Linked DNA regions of Homo sapiens: region 1 is linked to region 2. The links are contacts of gene promoters, found by promoter capture Hi-C in blood cells and fetal thymus (Javierre and others, 2016). All regions are on one chromosome and are shown on one strand. The core of a region is centred on a gene start or on the middle of the fragment in contact, and the rest is flanking DNA. Distances in the headings are between cores, read along the strand shown. Region 1 overlaps FRMD4A (FERM domain containing 4A). Region 2 holds the start of PRPF18 (pre-mRNA processing factor 18).

What was found. Contacts are between HindIII fragments. The CHiCAGO score rates a contact against its expected background, and 5 or more counts as called.
Region 1: a contact is called between a fragment that was not itself captured here and the fragment with the promoter of PRPF18 in region 2, in 1 of 17 cell types (total B cells). The highest score is 5.0, in total B cells.

What each region holds. Positions count from the first base shown.
Region 1 is chr10:14,186,642-14,192,762 of GRCh38, forward strand. All of the region lies in intron 2 of FRMD4A (FERM domain containing 4A), which reads right to left. Among named protein-coding and RNA genes, the nearest start is that of FRMD4A-AS3, 120 kb to the left of the region's middle. The HindIII fragment of the contact is 1,756 bases long and covers 2,313-4,068 here.
Region 2 is chr10:13,583,512-13,589,531 of GRCh38, forward strand. It overlaps PRPF18 (pre-mRNA processing factor 18), which reads left to right and starts at 3,454. Exons shown (of 10, transcript NM_003675.4): 1 at 3,454-3,641. The coding sequence starts at 3,576. RefSeq lists enhancers at 3,409-3,748, 3,924-4,519. The HindIII fragment of the contact is 3,512 bases long and covers 1,806-5,317 here.

The sequences.
Region 1 (6,121 bases), core at 1,941-4,440, 600 kb after region 2:
AAGGACTAGACCATGCATCCTCTTCCTTCTTACCTATCTTCATATCCTCATGAGAGAAGGGAGGGTTATCAGCCTCTGAGGATGCAGATGTTGCGCTCAGCCCCAGGATCCCCAGGAGACTGGCAAAGAAGATCATAGCTTTGACTGTTCAGGGTGGCCTTGGACACAAGTTGTACCCTTAAGGAATACCCTTCTCTGACCAGTATGGTGGTTCATGCCTATAATCACAGCACTTTGGGAGGCCAGGGAGGGAAGACTGCTTGAGCCCAGGAGTTTTGAGACCAGCCTGGGCAACATACTGAGACCTCGTCTCTGCAAAAAAAAAAAAACATAATTAGTCAGGTGTGGCGGTGCACATTCCTAGCTACTAATCAGGTTAAGGCAAGAAGATTGCCTGAGCCCAGGAGTTTGGGGAAGCAGTGAGTTGTGATCATGCCTTTGTACTCTCGTTTGGGTGACAGAGCAAGGCTCTGTCTCAAAGGAAAGAAGGAAAGAAGGAAGGAAGGAAAGAAGGAAGGGAGGGAGGGAGGGAGGGAGGGCGACACTCTTCCTTATAACAAGAAACAGCTTGCATTCTATAAAAGCAATGATGTGATTTCTTAAAGGCATTATGAGCCTAACTCCATGATATCAGATCATAGGATATTACAGTCAAATTGTGTATCAACTAGTCCATCATTTCACAGATAAGTAAATTGAGTCCCAGAGAGTTCGGTTACTTTCCTAAGATTACAGAAGTCCTCAACCTTGCTAATCTGATGTTCTTTCTTTTTCAACATACTGTTGGCTATATATGTCCTTTGTAAATAAAGGAACAGAGCCATTATCGTGGAATGACTGACTTAGAGAACGCTCCATGGACATTTGCTTCGACCTATATCCCATGCCTTTCTCCATTTACCCCCAAATTGACATAGAAAAAGATCAGCCAGATACAGTGGCTGGGAGGGCAACATAGTGAGACCCCGTCCCTACGAAAAATCAAAAAATAAGCTGAGCACCAGTGGCATGCGCCTGTGGTCCCAGCAACTTGGGAGGCTGGGGTGGGAGGATCGCCTGAGCCTGGGAGGTTAAGGCAGCAATGAGCAGAATGCTGTCACAGAGAAGGAACTCAATAAATACTTGGTAAAATATTTATTTTGGGGGTTAGAAGTAGACTTGGGAAATTTGGTTTTCTTTGATTCCATATTTCACTAGGGGGAAATAAAGATGTAAAACAGAGACATAAAACATGCCATTAGCTTTATGGGCCTTGGGACAGTGGGGTTCCCAGTTTTCCCGGGAGATGACGATGGAATGCATTCAGGCAGCTCCCACAATACAATTTTCCCATCTCTAGTGTCCTATTGGGAAGGTATCTCCACCTCCTTGTAGCCTCTCCATGCTGAATACACTTAAAACTCTAACCTCCTTTCCCCCAAAGGAGCTCCTTCCTTAGACTCTCCAGGTGCTGTCCTTGATGCTAATCTTTCTTCTGGTCAGCCTTTTGTTTTTCATGTAAAAATGACTTATTTCATTACTTACTGGACCTTTTCCACAAAATGCCTGGAATCAAATAAAAAATGACTGGATTCTCAAGTCAACCTTTCTGGACGCCTGCCTCTCCCCCTGTGCCAAGGACCCATGACCTGCTTGCTGCCTGGGCTCTTTGTGTGGTTTGGTTGCTTTTCTCAGACTTGAATGCTTCCCACTGAAATCCTACAATTGGGCACATAGCACTCCCTATTGAAAATGTATAATAGCTTCTCATTATACAAGCTCTTCACTTTGGCTTTTAGAATCATGTGCCGTCTCCTTTCCTATTTGCCTCCCGCCTGCCAAACTCATTATCCAATCATTCCCTCTTCAATCAGTCCCACCTTTCTACCTTTAGGTCCTTTTCCAGAATCCAAACTTTAATCAAAGAGATAAAGCAGGCCAAGACCCAATGTCCATTACTTAATAAGCCCTCAATAGACATTAGCTTTCTTCAAAGTCCTCATCAACTCCTTTCCTTGGCTGCGCACAGTAGCTCAGACTTTGAGAGGCTGAGGTGGAAGGCTCACTTAAGCCCAGGAGTTTGAGACAAACCTGGGCAACATAGTGAGACCCCGTCCCTACGAAAAATCAAAAAATTAGCTGAGCACCAGTGGCATGCGCCTGTGGTCCCAGTAACTTGGGAGGCTGGGGTGGGAGGATCGCCTGAGCCTGGGAGGTTAAGGCAGCAATGAGCGGTGATTGCAGCACTGACCTCCAGTCTGGGCAACGGAGCGAGGTTTTGTCTCAAAAACAAAACCAAACAAAATCCCGCCCAAAACAACTCCTTTCTGGGAAGCTTTCCCTGAGCAACCCAGCTCACCTCTGTTTGTCTTCACTGCCTGTTTGACATTTAGCTTAAGTTACCTTGTGCTGTTATCTTTTAACCCTGATCTGTATTTTAACCCTCAAGCACAAGGTCTCATGGCTGTGTATTTCCACCTCTGTGTATGGTGTCCTATAGACAGTGAGAGCTTAACATCTCGCGTCAGTGATGATGCTGCAGCATTGCTACGATGTCACCCTTAGCTCCAAACATGCCTACATCATTGGCAAACCTTTGAAATCCCAATAGCAAAATGCCAGAAATGCAAGAATTTGAGGTGGAAAAAGGGGTAAGAGGAGGAAGAGAATGGGCCCGGCGCGGTTGCTCACGCCTGTAATCCCAGCACTTTGGGAGGCAGAGGTGGGTGGATCACCTGAGGTCAGGAGTTCAAGACCAGCCTGACCAATATGATGAAACCTGGTCTCTACTAAAAATACAAAAAATAGTCAGGTGTGGTGGCGGGCACCTGTAATCCCAGCTACTCGGGAGGCTGAGACAGGAGAATTGCTAGAACCTGGGAGGCGGAGGTTGCAGTGAGCTGAGATTGCACCATTGCACTCCAGCCTGGGCAACAAGAGTGAAACTCCATTTCAAAAAAGAAAAAAGAGGAGGAAGATAATGAATATTTACAGACTGCCTTCTCTGTACCAAGTAACATTCTTTGTTCTTGTATAAATATCCTCTCCTATAAAGAAAAAAATAAACAAAAAGAGGGAATTGATTCAGTCAGGGTAACAGATGTTAGTGTCATCACTTAGGACTAGAGCCCATAAACTTCTGACTGCCACTGAAAAACAGCCAATGTCAAGGTGAGTTTAGACAGATCTTAACTCAGCCTGATGCTCATTAATGAGAACAATGGCAAAAGTGTTGGGAATTTGAGTCGGCCTCAGTAGGAAAATCCTTATAAATTTAATGAGAGCTCAGGAGAGATTTCTATCTATCTTAATTATGCTTGCAAACTTCATAGGGCGCTCTCTGACTCTAGGCTAAAACATGAAGCACCTTGATACCTCTAATACATAAGCCTAAGGCAGTAAATCAGGTTCTCCCCACACGTACACCACTTTCCAAAATATATTTGACAAAACTTGTCTAAATGTCTCATAGACACTACCCTTTGACTAAGAAAACGGTTTTGGTTATCACTCCCATTTTACAGACAGAAAAACTGTGGAACAGATTCTGATGCAACAGTATGCCCTCGCCCTAGCAGACGAGTTTGTTGCTCATCCTGAAGTGAAAACAGTAGTTTCTTCACAGCAAATGACCACCCCTCTCATGTTGGTAGTTCTACCATTTTCAAGACAACTGTATTACCAGAAAAAAGGGCTCACTGCTGGATGTGCTGGAAGCCGATACTATGACACCGGGTTTTCTGTTTGTTTGTTTTTTGTTCATTTTTTAGAGTCAGGGTCTTGCTCTGTTGCCCAGGCTGGAGTGCAGTGGTGCCATCATAGCTCACTGCAGCCTCAGTCTCCAAGGCTCTAGCGATCCTGCCTCCCGAGTAGCTGAGACCACCTCTGCCTCCCAAGTATTTGAGACCACAGGCACATGCTATCACACCTGGCTAATAAATTTTTTGTAGAGCTGGAGTTTTCTTGTGTTGCCCAGTCTGGCCTCAAATTCCTGGCCTCCAGCAATCCTTCCACCTTGGTCCCCCAAAGTGCTGGGATTACCGGCGTGAGCCCCGGCATCTGTCAACACTGGATTTTTGAGAAAAGAAAAGCTTTATATTGCAAGTCTACTCACAAGGAGACAGGAGTCAAGTTCAAATCTGTCTATCTGTGCTGGCTCCAAGGCAGTATTTTTTAATGGAAAAGTTTCAGGGGGTGGATTTGGGGATAAGCAGGTGACTGATGGAAGGAAGCAGGAAGTCTGGAAAGTCCTTGGGCATGCGCAGTTATCTATTCGTGATGCCTCCTGGGGCTTTGTGTGCAAATTTGGAGGAAGTTAGTGTGAAACATGGGTGGGAATTCAGGCTGTGAGGTCAGCAAGCTGGTTCCGTGCAGACCCCAGTCAGCCATATTGGTTCCAACCAACTTTAGCCAGTTCTTTTATCTCACAGGTGGAGAGAGTTTTAGTGTCGCAGTGAGAGGTTTCTTGTCTTATATGTTAACCTGCACACTCAAGAATTTTTGTTAGTTACTGGTTGTACTCTTGGGGGCATAGTCTCAGTTTCAGCTTTTCAGCAAGTTTTTGCTTTTCTTATGTGTGTTATCCTCTAAGCCCAAGAAGTTAGCCATTGGCTTCTTTAACTCTTTGGGGCATGGTTTCAGTTGGGAATCCCAAACAGAAAGGGTCTTCTGCTTTGAGAGAATTTTATCTAAATGGACACACAACTCATAAAACAACAGTCGTTGAGAGAAAGCAGAGGCTAATGGGGTCAAAGGTGAACAGCCAGTAGAAGTGCCAGCTCCTAAGAGAAAGGATATCAAGGGACAGCCATAGTTTACAAGACCCAGGACCAATCCCAATAAAAGTCCTGTCTCATGACCCCTGGTCTCTCTGTCACTAATTGAGAAATACAATCGACCGCTCCCCTCTGTTTATGCAGTGCATCCAGCATCATGTGACTACACAAGAGAACAAAAAGTAGTATCGGCTGTTGCTATGGAGACTTAAGAACCATGTGAATTGCTATGGCATCATAAAAGCGATATTCCAATCATCAGTCTTTAACTATAGGGCCGTTGAAATCTATCTCATATTTTTAGAATGTGTGACATTTAACACATTGATGAATATTTCCAGCCTCAGAATATATTCCCTGCTTTCATATTTAGATAGGAGTTTTCAGCTCAACTGGCTGTTTTTTTTTTTTCTCTCTCTCTCTCTCTCTCCTGGCAAATGCTTCATCTCCTCATGAGTGATTACAACTCTTTCTATACTTTCCTAGATGTTTCTTCATTCTTGCTTCCTGTTTTTTCTTTATTCTATAATTAAAATTATTTTCTCACTCACTGTCTCCACTTCCACCAGACCACTTTTTCACATCCCCGGTTGACATTTCAACCAGGCTTTAACCTCCACTGGTCTTAACTGACCACACTTTAAGCCAGAGTTGCTAATAATCAACAATTCTGAGCCCCAGCCAAAGGTGCACAGCTACCTCCTTGGTGGTTTTTATCCCTGAAAGTCACCATCCCCTTATCATCCAAGGGAATTCCAATTCACTGACTTTTCTAGGCTTTATATGAAATCATTCTTTTGGATGGAGAATAACATATCTAATTCTCCACTTTTTTCTTTGTAAGAATTGCTAACTGGGTTTTGTGTAGCTGTATACACAGACCATTTTGAATATCAGTGTGTATCCACACACACCTGTTTTGCTTATCTTATTTGGAAGATGTTGAAAGAGATTGATTAACTTGTTTAGAGTAACAGCTCTTATAACCTAATTAGCTTAGAAGCAAAAATGGGAAAGTGTAAATATCAGGAAATATACATTCACATAACAAAACTCTGCTAAAAGAAACCTGTTACAGTGGTGCACTGTTGTGAGATAAATTCCTCCACATTCCTTTTATTCTTGCAGCATCAGCCTCTCCAAATCTTCATGTGTATTAAGAACCTTCTTTTTTTAACCTCTTTCCTTAAGAGAGCTTCAGGATCTCTTGGACTTATGTATTTTCATCTCCTCCTTAAACCTCTCCAAAGAAGAGCCTTCTTGTTCCCTCCACAGTATTATACAATAAGCTCAAGTACATCAGTGAACATGGTATTACCAAGGTGTGATTTTATTCTGTGAGTTTCCAGGAATGAACATCTCCCCTC
Region 2 (6,020 bases), core at 2,204-4,703:
TTTTCCCCCGCAGGAGATGACAAAATAATATATTAGGTCGGCAGTTCTCAAAATGAGGTCCCTGGATCAACAGCATCCATCTCCCTTGGGAGTTTGTTCAAAAAGCAAAATCTTGGGTCCCACCCCAAGCCTATGGAAAGACAATTTCTGGGGTTGGGGACCAGCCGTCTGTGTTTCAAAAAGTCCTCCAGGTTATCCTGAAGCATGTTAAGGATTGAGAGCCACTGTATTGAATCATAGAGCTTTTCTTTGCTGTTTAAGTTACATTCCATCTTTTAGGGCAGCCACAAAACAAATCCAGGTGATCCTGATTCAATTTGGCATTTCCCTCCAGTCTCCAGAAATGACAAATAATTTCCTAGGATGAGTTACCTCTACAGAGGAATATCTCATCAATCCTGTACTGATTTTTACCCTTTTTTCTTTTAGAAGATGACTGATTTTTAATTTCTGAAATTATAGCCACATATACACTATTAAATCTTACAAAATTTAACTTTTTAAGGTCTATTTCTTGATTCCCCAACTAACTGGCTATCTCTTTGTGGGCAGGGTCTATGTTTTGGTTTAGGTCACAGAAGCTAATGTAGTATAGAGCTCATATATAAGATATTTAAATATTAGATTGAATAACTATGGAAATTTAAAAAATTCTTTATCTAATTCTTTGCTTTCTTTTATACTCTTCAAAATTTATCATATACAATGTCTAAAATAGACATGCTAGAAAATTTATAAATAGTCTAAATAATAATTAAACAGAAAAAGACTGATACCTGAATTTTCCCCCCATATTATGAGATTTGTACCAAATTGTGGTAAAAAGCAGAAAATAAGAATCCCCAATTGTTCTACTGTCCAGATAAAAACTTGATATTTTGGTATGTTTCCTTCCAATCAATGTTTTATTACGTCTATATGTTTTTGTTAAGAAGCATATGTCTATGTTTTTGTTAAAAAGCAGAGACTATATGCTATAAAGTTTCATTATGCTACTTTTGGACCGAACATTGTATCATGAGCATTCCCATACCATTGAATTTTTAAAAACATGGTTTTTAATGATGCCATGTTATTTGGTTGTGTGTATAAACTATATTTTATTTAACTATTCCTCCATTTAGAACACTTGGGTTGTTTCCAATTTTTCATTTTTATCTCTCATTTATTTATTTTTGTTTTAGAGACAGTGTCTTACTCTGCCACTCAGGCTGGAGTGCAGTGGTGCGATCAATGCTCACTGCAGCCTTGAACTCCTGGGTTCAAGTGATCTTCCTGCCTTGGCTTCCCAAAGTGCTGGGATTACAAGTGTGAGCCTCTGTACCCAGTCCCAATATTTCACTTTTTAAATAATGATTGTGATGAAATGGGATGCATGTTTTTTTAAATGAATATGGTCTCTCTTAGGGTCACGGCGATTTGTTCTTTTAAGTGTTTCTTTTCTTTTCTTTTTTTTTTTTTTTTTTTTTTTTGAGACAGAGTCTTGCCCTGTCACCCAGGCTGGAGTGCAGTGGCGCGATCTTGGCTCACTGCAACCTCCGCCTCCCGGGTTAAAGCGATTCTCCTGCCTCAGCCTCCTGAATAGCTGGGACTACAGGTGTGTGCCACCAAGCCCGGCTATTTTTGTAGTAGAGACAGGGTTTCACCATGTTGGCCAGGCTGGTCTCAAACTCCTGACCTCAGCTGATCCGCCTGCCTTGGCCTCCCAAAGTGCTCGGATTGTAGGCGTGAGCCACTGTGCCCGGCCTCTTTTAAGTATTTCTAAAAGCTCCTGGATATCTTTTTTCCTTCCTTTTGAATGGAAAAGCTTGCTTGTCAGTTGCTTGTTCAAGTATTTCTCTCTATCACTCTTTGATCTCAGGCCTTAATCAGGATTCAGTGCACATGTTTACATAAACGTAGAAATCAATGAAAGTCTAAAATGTAAGGGGAGGCTGTTAACTGTAGCTAGTAACTTCTCTGGTTTACACTGACAGTTTCCCAGGTAGCCAGCCGTTGTGTTCTCTGTAAACTTCCATTGCTGTTACTGTCATCTGTCTTAACCCTTCAGGTTTTTTTTGTGTCTAACAATCCCTAATCCCTAAATCAGGAAAATGCTAATAAATTATTATTTGCTCATTGATTAGTGAGGGAAACCCATATTCATGCAAGAGTGTTGCCATATTTAGTTCAAGGACATTTTCCTGTGTTGGCTTATTTCTGGCAAAAGTCAGGTATATTTTATTTTATTTTGTTTTGTTTTTGAGACAAAGTCTTGCTCTATCACCCAGGCTGGACTGCAGTGGCATGATCCCGGCTCACTGCAACCTCCATCTCCCGGATTCAAGCAATTCTCCTGTCTCAGCCTCCTGAGTAGCTAGGACTATAGGCACCTGCCACCACGCCTGGCTAATTTTTGTATTTTTAGTAGAGACGGGATTTCACCATGCTGGCCAGGCTGGTCTTGAACTCCTGACCTCAGGTGATCTGTCCACCTCGGCCTCCCAAAGTTCTGGGATTACAGGGGTGAGCCACCCCGTCTGGCCTCAGATATCTTTTAGATGAAGTATCACCCCCCACAAAAGACTTTCTAAATTGAAATAATTCAATTGTTCATTTTTTTGTTTTGTAAAGCATTTTACCCATTATCAGCTGACTCAACAAAATGATATTTCTTACCTTTTTTGAGTAAGAAAAACGAAATGTCAAATATTGTTCAATTATGATTTCACAAAAACAATTTTTAAACGTGCTTCAATGACATGAAAAAAATAAGTCCACTGTAAACAAATGTTAGGGACTTAAAAAATCTCTGACATAATTTTTCTCTTCAATTTAACTTTTTTTCCCTTGGGTTGGATTTAAAAAAAAAAAAGGAATTTCTGATTACATCTCCAATCATGTCACTGAAAAATCTTGATTGCTGAACACATGACCAAAAAATGATTAGTTAGCTTGAGGTAAATGTTCAATTATCACCAAGATTGGTAAGCAATCTAAAACAGAGGGAGTGAAGATAAATTGACTTCCAAACTGCTTTAAATGGTTGTAGTCGTTTAAGTTCACAGGAAATTTAACAGGCTAGTAATGAACAGACAGCCCTTTCACTCTATTGTTACAAGTTAGTATTATTGTTTAGATTTTTCTCATCCTTTTGCAAATTTTGCAAGCAAGTAACTTCAGAAACCCTAATGTAAATTTCCAGTTAATAAAGATCTTGATTTAACTGGCATTATTGAGGTGTTCTTCGAGAGGCTTTTGGAACTCAACTAGCAGGTGCAGAGAGTACTACAAAGACCCGGGTTTCCGTCCACGTTCACGTAAACCTCCCTACGAGGGGAAACTACAGGCGCGCTGCCGGAGGGCGCCGCCAGTGGGCACTCACGCACAGCTGCTTTGGCCACCACAGGCGCCCCGGGCCACTCTCTTCCCTCATCTCTCTCATCCCAGCTTCCGCCGGAAGCGGCTCCTGTCAGTTGTTCTCAGGTGTTTGGGCTTGTTGTTCCGTATACTCAGTGGGTTCGCGGCCGCCGGCCCAGTGAGGCTGGGTTCGAGGAGCTGGAGCGGGAAACTGGAGCTTAAATTCTGGCGGCGAGATGGACATTCTGAAATCAGAGATCCTTCGGAAGCGGCAGCTGGTGGAGGACAGGAACCTGCTGGTGGTGAGGACCCTGCGGTCGTGGGGGTCGGGATGTAAGAGTGAGAGTATGTGTGTCGGGGTTTTGGGGTGAGGGTGACGATACTCAGAGGATTCGGGGCGGGGACGGGGCTTAGCGAGTGTCCTGCCACTACCCCTGGTAGGCCCCCTTAGATCCAACCCTTGGCGTCTCACTGTTGAGGCTGGAGAATAGGGTCTGAGAGCAGGGAACTTGAGTACAATTCGTGCTGACTTCCCAAAGCTGGATCAAAAGGAAAACACCTGGGTCTGGGGGCGGGAACCTGAGGCCAATTAACGCCCACGTCCAAAAGCCAAACCAAAAGAAAAATCCTCATCTTCCCACCACCGAGTAGCAAAGGCTTCAGGCTGCGGCTCTCCCCGCATCCCTGCCTTTCCACCACCTCTCAGATGGGAAGGGAACGTGCCCTGCATTGGCCGTGGGCCAATCACGGGCCATCCCTTCATCTGCATAGGGCGCCAGTTCACCTCAGTCTTTAGCCACAGACCGAACCCTTCATCCAGATACGGGGTAGCTGATAGGGACCTCAGAAGGAGTACCTAAAACCCGGAAAACTTTGTAACCGGGGCCTCGAGCCGCTTGCTCGGGCCCACTCACACCCTGTGGAGTGCTTTCTCGCGTTCATAAGTCCCTACTTTTGCTGCTTCATTCCTGTGTTTTGTTACTTTTTTTGTGCGTTTTGTCCAATTCTTTGTTCAAAACGCCAAGGACCCGGGCAACTTACACTCACGGCCTTCTTTCCGGTAACCACTTGGGAGCCTTAGGGATGCAGGTGTGGGAATTGCAGGAAAACCCGAGGCTTTGTTTGTTTTCCCCCGACTGACCCTGTTTCCCTCCAGTTTACCTAACTGCCCCCTATCCCCGCTCCTACCTGTTGGCATTCTGCGGACGTGCCCCAGTGCTCCTGAGAGTTCCCTTCTGTCGCCTTACGAAGGGTTTGTGCCCAACTGAAACATGGAGGAAGGGCCGCCGGGCGCGGTGGCTCACACCTGTAATCCCCACACTTTGGTGGGCAGATCACCTGAGGTCAGGAGTTCGAGACCAGCCTGGCAAACATGGTGAAACCCCGTCTCTACTAAAAACACCAAAATTAGCTGGGCGTGGTGGTGCGCGCCTGTAATCCCAGCTACTCAGGAGGCTGAGGCCAGAGAATCACTTGAACCCGGGAGGCGGAGGTTGCCGTGAGCCGACATCGCACCACTGCACTCCTGCCTGGGCGACAGAGTGAGACACCGTCTCAAAAAAAAAAAAAAATTCCTTCTAGCCAGGTGTGGTGGTGCGCGCGTCTAGTCCCGGCTGCTTGGGAGACCAAGGCGGGAGGATCGCTTGAGCCCAGGAGTTCAGGCTGCAGTGAGCTATCATCGTGCCACTGCACTCCAGCCTGGGTGAGAGACCGAGTCCCTGTCTCTAAAAAAAAAAAAAAAAAAGTAATAAAATTCCTTTCTAATAGTAAATCCCAATTTTTTAAATTCTATTCCTCCTCCTTCTCTCTTCTTCAACACATGAAAAGTCTGTAGGCCTGCTCTTCACTGATGGGAATGCTAAGACTCTTTTGGAAAGGTACTAAAAAGGGGGAGAAAGAATTACATGATTTAGGAACTTCCTGAAGATGATCTCCCTTACTTTATTGTGTAGCAGTAACTTAGACCGCTGGTTCTCAAAGCTTTTGGTCTCAGGACCCCTTCACACTCTTAAAAGTTACTGAAGATCTTGAAGGACTTTTGTTTATGTGTTATTTCTATCCGTATTTACCATATTAGAAGTTAAAACTGAGAAACGTTAAAAATACTCACTGATCGATCATTTGGAAAACATTGGGTTACTGAATTATGCAGGTCTCCCACCTGTTGACACATTTCATTACAAAATATGAAAAGATCACTTCATTTAATATCCACTGATCTGAGAAACATCTGTAAGCATTAGGAAACTGTCAGGCTCCTGATGACAGATCTAAGTTCACCACACTTAATTTCCACTTGGAAGCTGGAATTTTATCATAGGCAACAAATATTATCAGTTATTTTCTTGAAGTGATCTGCTCACTTTGTTCAGTTTGGGGAAGTTGTCTGCCAAATACCCAAGTCTGAAGAACCATGGTTTGCCGGGTGTTCTTAAGTGTAAAAATGGTATTCCGTGAAAAAGCCAGTTTAGCTTGCAACTCAATTACTTTCCTCCACACAACCAGCAAACTTTAGTATAAATGAGAATTGTTGTATGCATCTTTCCTGTTTTGTCACATAATATTAAAAAGATATGGCCAAAGATCAAGACTTAATAAAAATAGTAATTTTACTCCTTTATCATAAGGAGTAAATTTGTTTAGAGAAACTGGCTCCCTCTGGCTGCAGTGGCAGTTTAGAG